3 separate regions of the Homo sapiens genome follow, and regions 1 and 3 are each linked to region 2. The links are contacts of gene promoters, found by promoter capture Hi-C in human tissues and cell types (Jung and others, 2019). All regions are on one chromosome and are shown on one strand. The core of a region is centred on a gene start or on the middle of the fragment in contact, and the rest is flanking DNA. Distances in the headings are between cores, read along the strand shown.

Evidence for each region. Contacts are between HindIII fragments. The study calls those that stand out against the background at their distance.
Region 1: a fragment that was not itself captured here is called in contact with the fragment with the promoter of ZC3H7A in region 2 in 3 of the 25 tissues and cell types used here (IMR-90 fibroblasts, aorta and lymphoblastoid cells).
Region 3: a contact is called between a fragment that was not itself captured here and the fragment with the promoter of ZC3H7A in region 2, in 1 of the 25 tissues and cell types used here (H1 embryonic stem cells).

The regions. Positions count from the first base shown.
Region 1 is chr16:11,536,527-11,540,789 of GRCh38, reverse strand. No RefSeq gene overlaps it. Among named protein-coding and RNA genes, the nearest start is that of LITAF, 48 kb to the left of the region's middle. The HindIII fragment of the contact is 8,104 bases long and covers 1-4,263 here.
Region 2 is chr16:11,795,528-11,799,777 of GRCh38, reverse strand. ZC3H7A (zinc finger CCCH-type containing 7A) reads left to right here and starts at 2,520. Exons shown (of 23, transcript NM_014153.4): 1 at 2,520-2,654. RefSeq lists silencers at 2,237-2,646, 3,129-3,288 and an enhancer at 2,284-2,821. The HindIII fragment of the contact is 23,320 bases long and covers 1-4,250 here.
Region 3 is chr16:12,073,792-12,078,038 of GRCh38, reverse strand. All of the region lies in intron 10 of SNX29 (sorting nexin 29), which reads right to left. Among named protein-coding and RNA genes, the nearest start is that of SNX29, 99 kb to the right of the region's middle. RefSeq lists an enhancer at 2,110-2,660. The HindIII fragment of the contact is 5,487 bases long and covers 1-4,247 here.

The DNA.
Region 1 (4,263 bases), core at 163-2,662, 260 kb after region 2:
GCCTGGACGACAGAGTGACACCCTGTCTCAAAAAAAAAAAAAAAAAAAAAAGAAAAAGAAAGAAAAAGAAAATGTTTTGCAACGAGATAGAGGTGGCAGTTGTACAACAATGTGGATGTGCTGATGCCACTGAATTGGTCACTGTAAAATTGTTTAATTGTACTAGGTGAATCTCACCTCGATCAAAGAAAATACACCAATTTGTATTGTTTCATGTGACAATTGGTAAAATGAGGATAGAGTGAACTGTGGATGCAGCGTAAATCAGAATGGAGGTTTCAGTGAGGTAGTAACCATTACCAACTGTGTTAAGACTATAATATAATGGCCAGGCACGGTGGCTCACACCTGTAATCCCAGCACTTTGGGAGGCCAAGGCAGGCGGATCAACTGAGGTCGGGAGATCGAGACCAGCCTGGCCAGCATGAAGAAACTCCATCTCTACTAAAAATACAAAATTAGCCAGGCGTGGTAGCACATGCTTGTAATCCCAGCTACTCGGGAGGCTGAGGCAGGAGAATTGCTTGAACCTGGGAGGCAGAGGTTGTGGTGAGCTGAGATCACACCATTGCTTTCCAGCCTAGGCAACAAGAGCGAGACTCTGTCTCAAAAAAAAAAAAAAAAAAAAAAAGACTATAATGTATAATTAAATAATACTTATAAAGCAAATGGTAGAATCTGAGGACAGGACCTCAGTATCAACATCTTTGGAACCAGTACAATGTTGGGTTAAAATGTATAGGACATGCTTGTTGAATTAGGGAAGAAAGTAAAGTGAAAGCATTTGATTCATCAAGAACCATGACTGAGCTACTTGCAACCTGCTGCAGGGCTGGGACAACTCATTTGAGCTTCCCACACCGAGTTCCTCTCCTTTCGAAGAAGAGGTAGGCTGATTCCTCCAGCGCTAAATGTCTGTGTTGGGAAATGGACAGGTCTAGGGGAGAAGACAGTACCTGCTGGAACATTCCAGAACATGCTGGAATATGCTAGGGGCTTGCTGTTTTGGCCTATGTTGTGCTGAAACCCTGTTAGTTTCACTAGGGAGGTAACAAGTTCAAGAGGCTGAAGAAGAAATGCAGAGCCAGCAAAGGAGACATTGGGTTTGATTCGGGACTTAGACACAGGGGAGAGAGTGCAGGTGCTGGTGGGCTGGAGAGGGAAACTGCAGCCACTTGCAAACAGCATGCAGTTTATTCAGCATTTTCACTTAACACCCTCCCCTTAACGACCTCCACCTGGCAACCTTCATGTAACCTAAAACTCAGAGCCTCCATCCCTTGGAGGGCCTGTGTTTCATGGGATGGGCCAGGGGCTCAGATGTTTCTCATAGACAGGAAACAAATCTCCAGGTTGGCCATTCCCGGATTCCGTAGCTGGGACTCACATTCAGGTGAGTCTGCCATCCAGGTCATCCTAAGGATGTGCGCAGGTTATTGCGTTCAGGTGCGTTTGCCCTACAGCCCACCGGAGCCAGCTCTTCGGTAAACTAGGAAACCCTTGAGACACAGGTCTCAATGAGCACCAGGCTGTGGTCAGCTTTGATACGCAGGAGCAGAGCAAGCCAAGAAATGACACTCAACTTTGCAAGAATCAGCCCCCTGTGTCTCCTTCCCACTGTCTGCTGCCAGGGGCGGGCGTCTGTATTCACACATCTGGCTCAGGTGAGGATGGGGCCAGGAGCCACCTTTGCAGGTCATTCGAAGGCCCCCACATTCCTTCCACCGGTGGGCCCTGGGGGCTGCCTCCCTCCCTCCCTGAGCTGAGAATCCCATCTTTGGAGTGAGTCTTGCGTCTACAGATCTAGGGCTGCACGTGTGTCCTGCTCAGGGCATGGCTAATAGGGCCCATTCCCTGGAAGCAAGGGCAGGAAGGGGACTGGGCACGGGGCTGTCGTCTTTACATAAGGGCTCATTACCACGGAGGCCTTAGCAGCTAGGGTACCTGTGATCCTGGGCAGGCGTATTTCTGCTTGGAGGACGTGGGGATTGGAAGCAGGGGTCGATTATAGAGCTGAGCCACAGGTGAAGTGGCTGGTGCATCTCTGAGTAGCCAAGAAATGGGAAAAGTGCCGGGAGAGGCAGGCCTCCTAACGCAGGGAGAAGGTTTCAGACCCCATCGTAGACTCTGCTGTATAACAGCCACTCACACAGGGCTTTGCGGTAAGAACTTTTTGGCTTCTTTGGCAATAGCTTTATTGAGATGTTATCTACATGTCACACAATTCACCCATTTAAAGTGTACAATTCAGCCGGGCGTGGTGGCTTACACCTGTAATCCAGCACTTTGGGAGGCCAAGGTGGGAGGGTTGGTGTAGGCCAGAAGTTGAAGACCAACCTGGACAACAAGGTGAGACTCGGTCTCTTTAAAAAAAAAAAAAAAAAAAAAAAAAAAAACGGGCCAGGCGCGGTGGCTCACGCCTGTAATCCCAGCACTTTGGGAGGCCGAGGCAGGTGGATCACGAGGTCAGGAGATTAAGACCATCCTGGCTAACACGGTGAAACCCCATCTCTACTAAAAATACAAAAAATTAGCCTGGCGTGGTGGTGGGCGCCTGTAGTCCCAGCTACTCGGGAGGCTGAGGCAGGAGAATGGTGTGAACCTGGGAGGCGGAGCTTGCAGTGAGCTGAGATCGTGCCACTGCACTCCAGCCTGGGCGACAGAGCGAGATTCTGTCTTAAAAATGTCGTTGGGCGTGGTGGTGCGTGCCTGCAGTCCCAGCTACTGAGGAAGCTGAGGAAGGAGGATTTTTTGAGCCGCGCCGAGGTCAAGGCTGCAGTGAGCTGTGATTGCACCGCTGCACTCCAGCCTGGGCAACAGGAGCAAGACCCTGTCTCTAAAACATAAAGTTTTAAAGCATAATGATTTAATCGGTTTTTATTATATTCACAAAGTTGTGCAACCATTACCACAATCAAGTTTAGCATTTTCATCAGCTCAAAAAGAAACCCCGGGCCAAGTGTGGCGGTTCACGCCTGTAATCCCAGCACTTTGGGAGGCTGAGCTGGGCAGATCACCTATGGTCAGGAGTTCCAGACTAGCCTGGCCAACATGGTGACTTGTCTCTACAAAAATACAAAAATTGGCCGGGCATGATGGCAGGTGCCTATAATCTCAGCTACTCAGGAGGTTGAGGCAGGAGAATTGCTTGAACCTGGGAGGCAGAGATTGCAGTGAGCTGAAATCATACCACTGCTCTCCAGCCTGGGTGACAGAATGAGATATGGTCTCAAAACAAAACCAAAAATCCCGTACCCTTTAGTTGACGACTCTCAATCTCCTCTCCCTGCCACTCCCAGCCCCTGGCAATCAACTGATCTACTCTCCAGCTCTATAGATTTGCCCATTCTGTACGTATCATGTAAAGGGAATCATAGCATATGTGGTCTTTTGTGCCTGGATTTTTTTTTTTTTTTTTTTTGAGATGGAATGTTGCTCTGTCACCCAGGCTGGAGTGCATTGACGTGATCTTGGCTCACTGCAACCTCCGCCTCCCAGGTTCAAGCAATTCTTCTGCCTCAGTGTTCCGAGTAGCTGGGATTATAGGTGTGTGCCACCACGCCTGGCTAATTTTTTTTGTACTTTTAGTAGAGACGGGGTTTCACCATGTTGGCCAGGCTGGTCTCAAACTCTGGAACTCATGAATCGCCTGCCTCAGCCTCCCAAAGTGCTGGGATTACAGGTGTGAGCCACCACGTCTAGCCGATGCCTGGCTTCTTTTACATGGCATAATGTTTTCAAGGGCCACCCACGCTGTGGCAGGTGTCATTGCTCCATTGCTTTTTATAGCCAGATTGTAGTCCATTGTGTGCATAGATGACATTTTGTTTATCTGTTGAAGGTTATCTTTATATCTTTAAAAAGTCTGTGGCTCTATCCTTGCTACTCATTGTACCAGCTATTAAAAAAAAAAGAAAAACCACTGTGCCATTTTTCAGTAAAATGATTTAGACAATCTTCTTCTATATTAAAAATTATAAGGGTAAGCCTAAATAGGACATGTCAAAGACAAAAGGGCAGCTGTTAATGAGTAGGCCGGGCAGCAGAATTGAGGCTGTCCTGGGCACGCCCAATGTGTGGACACCCCACTCCTGGGCCAGGTAACAGCAATGCACTGTCTCAATGCTTCAGGCCTTGGATAACACAGCAGAGGAGCGTGGCCCCTGGTTAAAAACCCACATGTGGCCAGGTGTGGTGGCTGACACCTGTAATTCCAGCACTTTGGGAGGCTGAGGCGGGTGAATCACAAGGTCAGGAGTTGGA
Region 2 (4,250 bases), core at 1,271-3,770:
GCTGGGGCTGGGGTGTCACCAGTATCCAGAGACCTCCTGAGCCTTCTGGCAACAGGACTAGACGAGGTCATTTCAGATCATGATGACTGCTTGGAAGATCAGATAGGGCGCTGTGTTAGTGAGCAACTTTTAGATGGGCTGTCAGTGAAGGCCTCTCCAAGAGAGGCTACTGTAGTTGAGGCCTGAATGATGAGCAGCCTCTGGTCACGAGAATAATCCACCCCTTTCTTTTTCTTATTTTGTTTTGAGACGGAGTCTCGCTGTGTCGCCCAGGCTGGAGTACAGTGGCGCGATCTCGACTCACCACAACCTCCACCTCCCAGGTTCAAGTGATTCTCCTGCCTCAGCCTCCCCAGGAGCTGGGATTACAGGCGCCTGCCTCCATGCTTGGCTAATTTTTGTATTTTTAGTAGAGACAGGGTTTCACCATGTTGGCCAAGCTGGTCTTGAACTTCTGACCTCGTGATCCCCCTGCCTCGGCCTCCCAAAGTGCTGGGATTATAGATGTGAGCCAGTGCGCCCGGTATAATCCACCCCTTTCTTAGAGGAGCTTCCCTAAAACCACAGCCCATCAGCTCTCCAATATCTGTTGCAGCACTTACCTGGTGTTACGGACTGAAACGCTCCCCGCTCCGCACATACCCACCCCGGAGTCCGTATGTTGAAGCTCTAACCCTAATATGGCTATTAGGCATATTAGGCAGTCATTAGGGTTAAATGAAGTCATAGGACCCTTATACTTTTTTTTTTTTTTTTGGTACAGACTCTCTCTCTCGCCCAATATGGAGTGCAATGGCGCGATCTCAGCTCACTGCAACCTCTGCCTCCCAGGTTCAAGCGATTCTCCTGCCTCAGCCTCCCGAGTAGCTGGGATTACATGTGCACGTCGCCATGCCCGGCTAATTTTTTGTATTTTAGTAAAGACGGGGTCTCATTGTGTTGCCCAGGCTGGTCTCCAACTCCTGAGCTCAGGCAATCCATCTGCCTCGGCTTCCCAAAGTGCTAGAATTACAGGCGTGAGCCACTGCGCCTGGCCTAATACGACTATTTGAATACGGCCTTTTAGGTAGTCACTGGGGTTAAATGAAGTCATAGGGTGGGGCCCTAATCTAGTAAAATTGTTGTTCTTGTAAGAAAAAGGAAGACACACCAGGGATTCCTGCTCACAGAGAAAAGGTCATAGGAGGACACAGTGAGAAGGCAGCTGTTTGCAAGCCAGGGAGAGAGGCCTCACCAGAAACCAGCCCTGCCGGCACCCAGACCTTAGATTTGCAGCCTCTAAAACTGTGAGAAAATAAATTCCTGTTGTCTAAGCTGCCTGGTCTGGGGTATTTTGTCATGGCAGCCTGAGCTAATACTCTGGTTTGTAAATCTACGTCACCCAGACCCCTGGAAGAGCTACTGTAGCTAGAGTCCCCACTTCCCCTCTTGTCTCTCCTACAGCCCAATCTCTGCATAGTAGCAGGAGAGAACTTTCTAAAATATAAATGAGACCTCGGAACTCCCAATTCAGACTCAATGAATGACCCCCTTCCACACAAAACTCCAAATTAAACATGGCGGCCCCCCTGTGTCACAGATCTTTCTCCCCTCTGGCACACATCAGCTATGCAGGCCTTTCCTGTTATCCAGACACCGAACTCCAGCTTCAGGGCTTTTGCACTCATTTCCCCTCTGCCTGCGGCACACTTCCCCGAACACGGTTGCATGGCTGTCACCTCCTCAGAGGCTTTCCCAAAAGCTCCTGTCACATCCTCCTGCTTGAATTTCTTTGGTCTTCACCGACCAAAATGGTCTTCTTTGGGCTCTTGTGGGTCCTGATCTCCGCCCTCCATCCCATGGGGCAGGGACCCTGCCTCGCCCACTGCTGAGCTGAGCATTTTACAAGAAGCCGTGCCCGCAGCGGGGCACCTGGCCGTAAAATGCAGATGGACGAGGCGGCATTTGGGCTGGGCCCTGAAGGACAGGGATCCAGGCCTTCCAAGAGCCGGCAGATGGAACTGGAGGGAGGCTGTCTTTGGATCCCCGGCTGCCGTGGGGCTCCGCGCCTCCGTTCCTCATATGTAGGAATGAAGACAATCACGGTTGTTCTGAGGATGCAGGGTTACTCTTCGCAGAGCAGGGCGCCCCGGTTGAGGGCTCGTCAAGCTAAGCAGGCTCCAGGGTGGGCTTCCCGATGCCGACTCTAGCTCCTCTCCCCGCTGGACGCTGTTCTACCTCCTAGCGCTTCTGCTCAGGCCGCGGCCCAGGCGAGGCCCCAGAAAACCCCGGTGCTGGTTAATCAGTCTTGAGTCCGAGCGCGTCCAGTGCGCAACGTGGCCTTCCCATTGGCTCACCCAGTGGGCCGCGCGTCGACGCCGGGGCTCCGGATTGAACGGCGCGCCCAGGTCCCTGCCCCCAGTCAGACGTGGCGCCACCGCCCCCAGCCCGTAGCTCCGGCGCAGCCAATGGCGGCGTCTCCCGGGCGGCAAGCGCGGCCTCCCGCCGCTAGAGGGCGCCGCCGCGGGCGCAACCGAGCCGCTGCCGCCGCCGCTAACCGAGGGAGAGCTGCGAGCGAGCACCCAGGCCCCGCCGCCGCCGCCGCCACCGCTGCCCGCCTGCCGCCGCCCGCCTCCGCCTGCCTTCTGCCGCCGGCCGGCGCGTCGTCCCCACAGGTAGGGGTAGGGGGACGCCGCCGGGCATGAAGGAAACGCGCGCGCCCGCGCCCCCGCCCCCCCCGCGCGCGCCGCCGCCTCGTGCTCGCGCGCGGCCGTTAACGGACGGCGGGCGGGGCGGGGGAGGGGCGGCGGGGTCCGGGGCCCGCGGACCCGAGAGGACCCTGAGAGGAGCCGGGCCGGGGCCTGTGCGCGCGGAGGGACGGGTGGGCGCGCCGTCCCCTTCCCCCACCGAGAATAACGTGACCCACTTCTGCCTGCCATTCCCTCGGCAAAATGTCTCCTTTTTGGTGATTTCACTAAAAAAAAATTTTTTTTTTGGTTATTTCTGTCTGCTCTGGTGATCGCGGGGATCCCGATTCAGCGTCTTGGGCTTGGGGGCGGGAAGGATGCCGGCGGAGAGCTTGGCGCATTAATTTGGGGCTCATCCGTCTTTTTTACCCCCCTTTCTGATTTTTTTATTTTTTCGCGCGGGGTGCAGCCCTGGGCCGGGCGGGGAGAGGCCTTGGGGTCCGCGGAGGCGGGGGCGCCGCCCGGGAGGACCGGGACCGGGACCTGTCAGTTCCCATTAGCGGGGCTTCCGGTCAGGCCTGGGCAGCAAAGGGGTGGGGCCGCCTGAGGCCCGGCCGGGGCCTCCGAGGTCGAGCCTGAGTCGGGACTGGGTGGATTTGCCAGGAGTTGGGTATTTTCCTGTCCCCACCTGTCTAGGGATGAAAAGGAGTTGCCCGTGTTCGGTATTGAACCACGAAGGACCTTGCCATGCCCAGTACGGTGGCCACTGACCCCCCGCCGTTTGGGACGATGGAGCCCACGAAATGGGGCCAGTTTCAGTTGCGGTCCCAGCTGTGAAACGTACATCTGATTTTAAAAACTTCGGATGAGAAAGAAAGTAAAAGATGTCATTGGTAATCTTTTATACTTAAATGCATGTTGAGATGGTCATGTTTGGGACAAATTGGATTAACGAAAATAGATCATTAAAATTAATCTTGGCAGGATGCAGTGGCTCATGCCTGTCATCCCAAAACTTTGGGAGGCTGAGGCAGGAGGATCGTTTGAGTGCAGGAGTTCAAGACCAGCCTCAGCAACATAGTGAGACCCCTGTCTCTACAAAAAATACAAAAAATTAACTGGGCGTGGTGGCGCACGCCGGTAGTCAGCTACTCGGGAAGCTGAGGTGGGAGAATCTGCTACTCGGAAGGCTGGGGTGGGAGAATCCCTTGAGCCCAGGAGATTGAGGCTTCGGTGAGCTGAGATTGTGCCTTTGTGCTCCAGCCTGGGACACTGTCTCAAAACAAACAAATAAAAAAACAAAAGTTAATCTCACTGCTTTTCTTTTTCTCTTTTTTTAGTGTGGCTATTTGGAAATTTAAAATGACATATACGGGCCGGGCGGGGTGGCTCAACGTCTGTAATCCCAGCACTTTGGGAGGCCGAGGTGTGTGGATCACCTGAGGTCAGGAATTCCGAGACCAGCCTGGCCAACATGGAGAAACCCCGTCTCTAGTAAAAATACAAAAATCAGCCAGGCGTGGTGGCAGGCGCCTGTAATCCCAGCTACTGGGGAGGCTGAGGCAGGAGAATCGTTTGAACCGG
Region 3 (4,247 bases), core at 562-3,061, 280 kb before region 2:
GCTGGCTGTGAATTCAATGTTAATGAATCAACTGCATACATTAAACAAGGTGTCTTTAAACAGGAACAGACATAAAACCAGGTTATGTGTTGATCAGTTGATAAAAATGCTGTGACCAGGCCAGGTGTGGTGGCTCATGCCTGTAATCGCAATACTTTGGGAGGCCGAGGCGGGTGGATCACATGAGGTCAGGAGTTCGAGACCAGCCTGGCGAACATGGCAAAACCCCTTCTCTACTAAAAATACAAAAATTATCTGGGTGTGGTAGCACATGCCTGTAATCCCAGCTACTTGGGAGGCTGAGGCAGGAGAATCACTTCAACCCAGGAAACAGAGGTTGCAGTGAGCCAAGATCACGCCACTGCACTCCAGCCCCGGGCAAAAGAGCAACAGTTCATCTCAAAAACAAAATGTGTGACCAGAGCCTCAAAGCAACTTAACCATGTACTTCCCCTAGGAGCACTGGTTCAGTCTTCATAGCAACTTTATAGAATACAACTACTGGGAATAATAAGAATCAACTGTATGTTTACAAATAATTTACAACATGAAAAATAAAGTTTAGTGTCTTTGGTGAGAACAGCACGGTCATCACATGGTTAACAGAGATACACACACACACACACACACACACACACACACACACACACACCATGACTAGGAGGAAAAGTACCAAAACATCAACAACATAATGAAGTTGAGGGTTAAGACTGATTTTCTTTTTTCATTTACTGTTGCATTTTCCAATTTTTTTTTTTTTAAGACAGGTTCTCACTCCGTTAACTAGGCTGGAGTGCAGTGGTGCAATCTCAGCTCGCTGAAGGCTTGAACTCCTGGGTTCAAGTGATCTTCCCACATCAGTCTCCCAAGTAGCTGACACTACAGGCATGCACCACCACATCTGGATAATTTTTGTTGTTGTTTTATTTGTAAAGACAGGGTCTCACTTGCCCAGACTGGTGGTGTTGAACTCCCGGCCTCAAGTAATCCTCCCACCTTGGCCTCCCAAAGTGCTGAGATTACAGGCATGGGCCACCATGCCTAGTCACATTTTCTAAAATAAATAGCAAAAAAAGACTCCACCCCCTGGAAGGGTCTGGCAACACCAATTCCTTCTGACACTGAACTAACTGCGACAAGCTTCCTACAAGCAATGTCATTTTGAGAGAGCAGAACCCTTGACTGTTCCAGGTAAGACCATGGCATCTAATATGGTTTACGGTAGTCAGGAAGTTCCACTCTAGAGCTAGGTTTGAAAATAAGGATGTAATAGCACCCTGGGACCCCAAATTACAGCCAAGAGGAGAGACAGAAGAAGAAAACGGTAATAGCAGCAAGGATGGCAGTGGCATAAGACTTTGGTGTCCATTTCAGTTCTGCCACCAAGCATCCAGGGTCTCGCTTTGTCACCCAGGCTACATAAAAATGTTATGACCAGGCTGGGCGTGGTGGCTCACGCCTGGAATCCCAGCACTTTGGGAGGCCAAGGCAGGCGGATCACATGAGGTCAGGAGGTCGAGACCAGCCTAGCCAACATGGCGAAACTCCGTCTCTACTGAAAAATACAAAAATTAGCCGGGCATGGTGGTGGACATGTGTAATCCCAGGTACTTGGGAGGCTGAGGCAGGAGAATCACTTGAACCCAGGAGGCGGATGTTGCAGTGAGCCAAGATGGTGCCACTGCACTCCAGCCTGGGCGACAGAGTAAGACTGTCTCAAAAAAAAAAAAAAAAAGGGAGGAGCCAAGATGGCCGAATAGGAACAGCTCCAGTCTACAGCTCCCAGCGTGAGTGACGCAGAAGATGGGTGATTTCTGCATTTGCATCTGAGGCACTGGGTTCATCTCACTACGGAGTGCCAGACAGTGGGTGCAGCGCACCATGCACCAGCCAAAGCAGGGTGAGGCATTGCCTCACTCGGGAAGCGCAAGGGGTCAGGGAGTTCCCTTTCCTGTTCAAGGAAAGGGGTGACAGACGGCACCTGGAATATCGGGCCACTCCCACCCAAATACTGCGCTTTTCCGAAGGGCTTAGGAAACAGCGCGTGAGGAGATTATATCCCGCACCTGGCTCGGAGGGTCCTACACCCATGGAGTCTCGCTGATTGCTAGCACAGCAGTCTGAGATCAAACTGCAAGGCGGCAGCGAGGCTGGTGGAGGGGCACCCACCATTGCCCAGGCTCCCTTAGGTAAACAAAGCAGCCAGGAAGCTCGAACTGGGTGGAGCTCACCACAGCTCAAGGAGGCCTGCCTGCCTCTGTAGGCTCCACCTCTGGGGGCAGGGCACAGACAAACAAAAAGACAGCAGTAACCTCTGCAGACTTAAATGTCCCTGTCTGACAGCTTTGAGGAGAGCAGTAGTTCTCCCAGCACGCAGCTGGAAATCTGAGAACGGGCAGACTGCCTCCTCAAGTGGGTCCCTGACCCCTGACCCCTGAGCAGCCTAACTCGGAGGCATCCCCCAGTAGGGGCAGACTGACACCTCACACGGCTGGGTACTCCTCTGAGACAAAACTTCCAGAGGAACGATCAGACAGCAGCATTCGCGGATCACGAAAATCCCTGGTTCTGCAGACACCGCTGCTGATACCCATGCAAACAGGGTCTGGAGTGGACCTCTAGCAAACTCCAACAGACTGCAGCTGAGGGTCCTGTCTGTTAGAAGGAAAACTAACAAACAGAAAAGACATCCACACCAAAAACCCATCTGTACATCACCATCATCAAAGACCAAAAGTAGATGAAACCACAAAGATGGGGAAAAAACAGAGCAGAAAAACTGCAAACTCTAAAAAGCAGAGCACCTCTCCTCCTCCAAAGGAACACGGTTCCTCACCAGCAACGGAACAAAGCTGGACGGAGAATGACTTTGACGAGTTGAGAGAAGAAGGCTTCAGATGATCAAACTACTCTGAGCTACAGGAGGAAATTCAAACCAAAGGCAAAGAAGTTGAAAACTTTGAAAAAATTTAGACGAATGTATAACTAGAATAACCAATATAGAGAAGTGCTTAAAGGAGCTGATGGAGCTGAAAGCCAAGGCTCGACAACTAGGTGAAGAATGCAGAAGCCTCAGGAGCCGATGCGATCAACTGGAAGAAAGGGTATCAGTGATGGAAGATGAAATGAATGAAATGAAGTGAGAAGGGAATTTGAGAGAAAAAAGAATAAAAAGAAACGAACAAAGCCTCCAAGAAATATGGGACTATATGAAAAGACCAAATCTGCATCTGATTGGTGTACCTGAAAGTGACGGGGAGAATGGAACCAAGTTGGAAAACACTCTACAGGATATTATCCAGGAGAACGTCCCCAATCTAGCAAGGCAGGCCAACATTCAGATTCAGGAAATACAGAGAACGCCACAAAGATACTCCTGGAGAAGAGCAACTCCAAGACACATAATTGTCAGATTCACCAAAGTTGAAATGAAGGAAAAAATGTTAAGGGCAGCCAGAGAGAAAGGTCGGGTTACCCACAAAAGGAAGCCCATCAGACTAACAGTGGATCTCTCGACAGAAACTTTACAAGCCAGAAGAGAGTGGGGGCCAATATTCAACATTCTTAAAGAATTTTCAACCCAGAATTTCATATCCAGCCAAACTAAGCTTCATAAGTGAAGGAGAAATAAAATACTTTACAGACAAGCAAATGCTGAGAGATTTTGTCACCACCAGGCCTGCCCTAAAAGAGCTCCTGAAGGAGGCACTAAACATGGAAAGGCACAACCGGTACCAGCCACTGCAAAATCATGCCAAAATGTAAAGACCATCGAGACTAGAAAGAAACTGCATCAACTAACAAGCAAAATAACCAGCTAACATCATAATGACAGGATCAAATTCACACATAACAATATTAACTTTAAATGTAAATGGACTAAATGCTCCAATTAAAAGACACAGACTGGCAAATTGGATAAAGAGTCAAGACCCATCAGTGTGCTGTATTCAGGAAACCCATCTCACGTGCAGAGACACACATAGGCTCAAAATAAAAGGATGGAGGAAGAGCCACCAAGCAAATGGAAAACAAAAAAAAGGCAGGGGTTGCAATCCTAGTCTCTGATAAAAGAGACTTTAAACCAACAAAGATCAAAAGAGACAAAGAAGGCCATTACATAATGGTAAAGGGATCAATTCAACAAGAAGAGCTAACTATCCTAAATATATATGCACCCAATACAGGAGCACCCAGATTCATAAAGCAAGTCCTGAGTGACCTACAAAGAGACTTAGACTCCCACA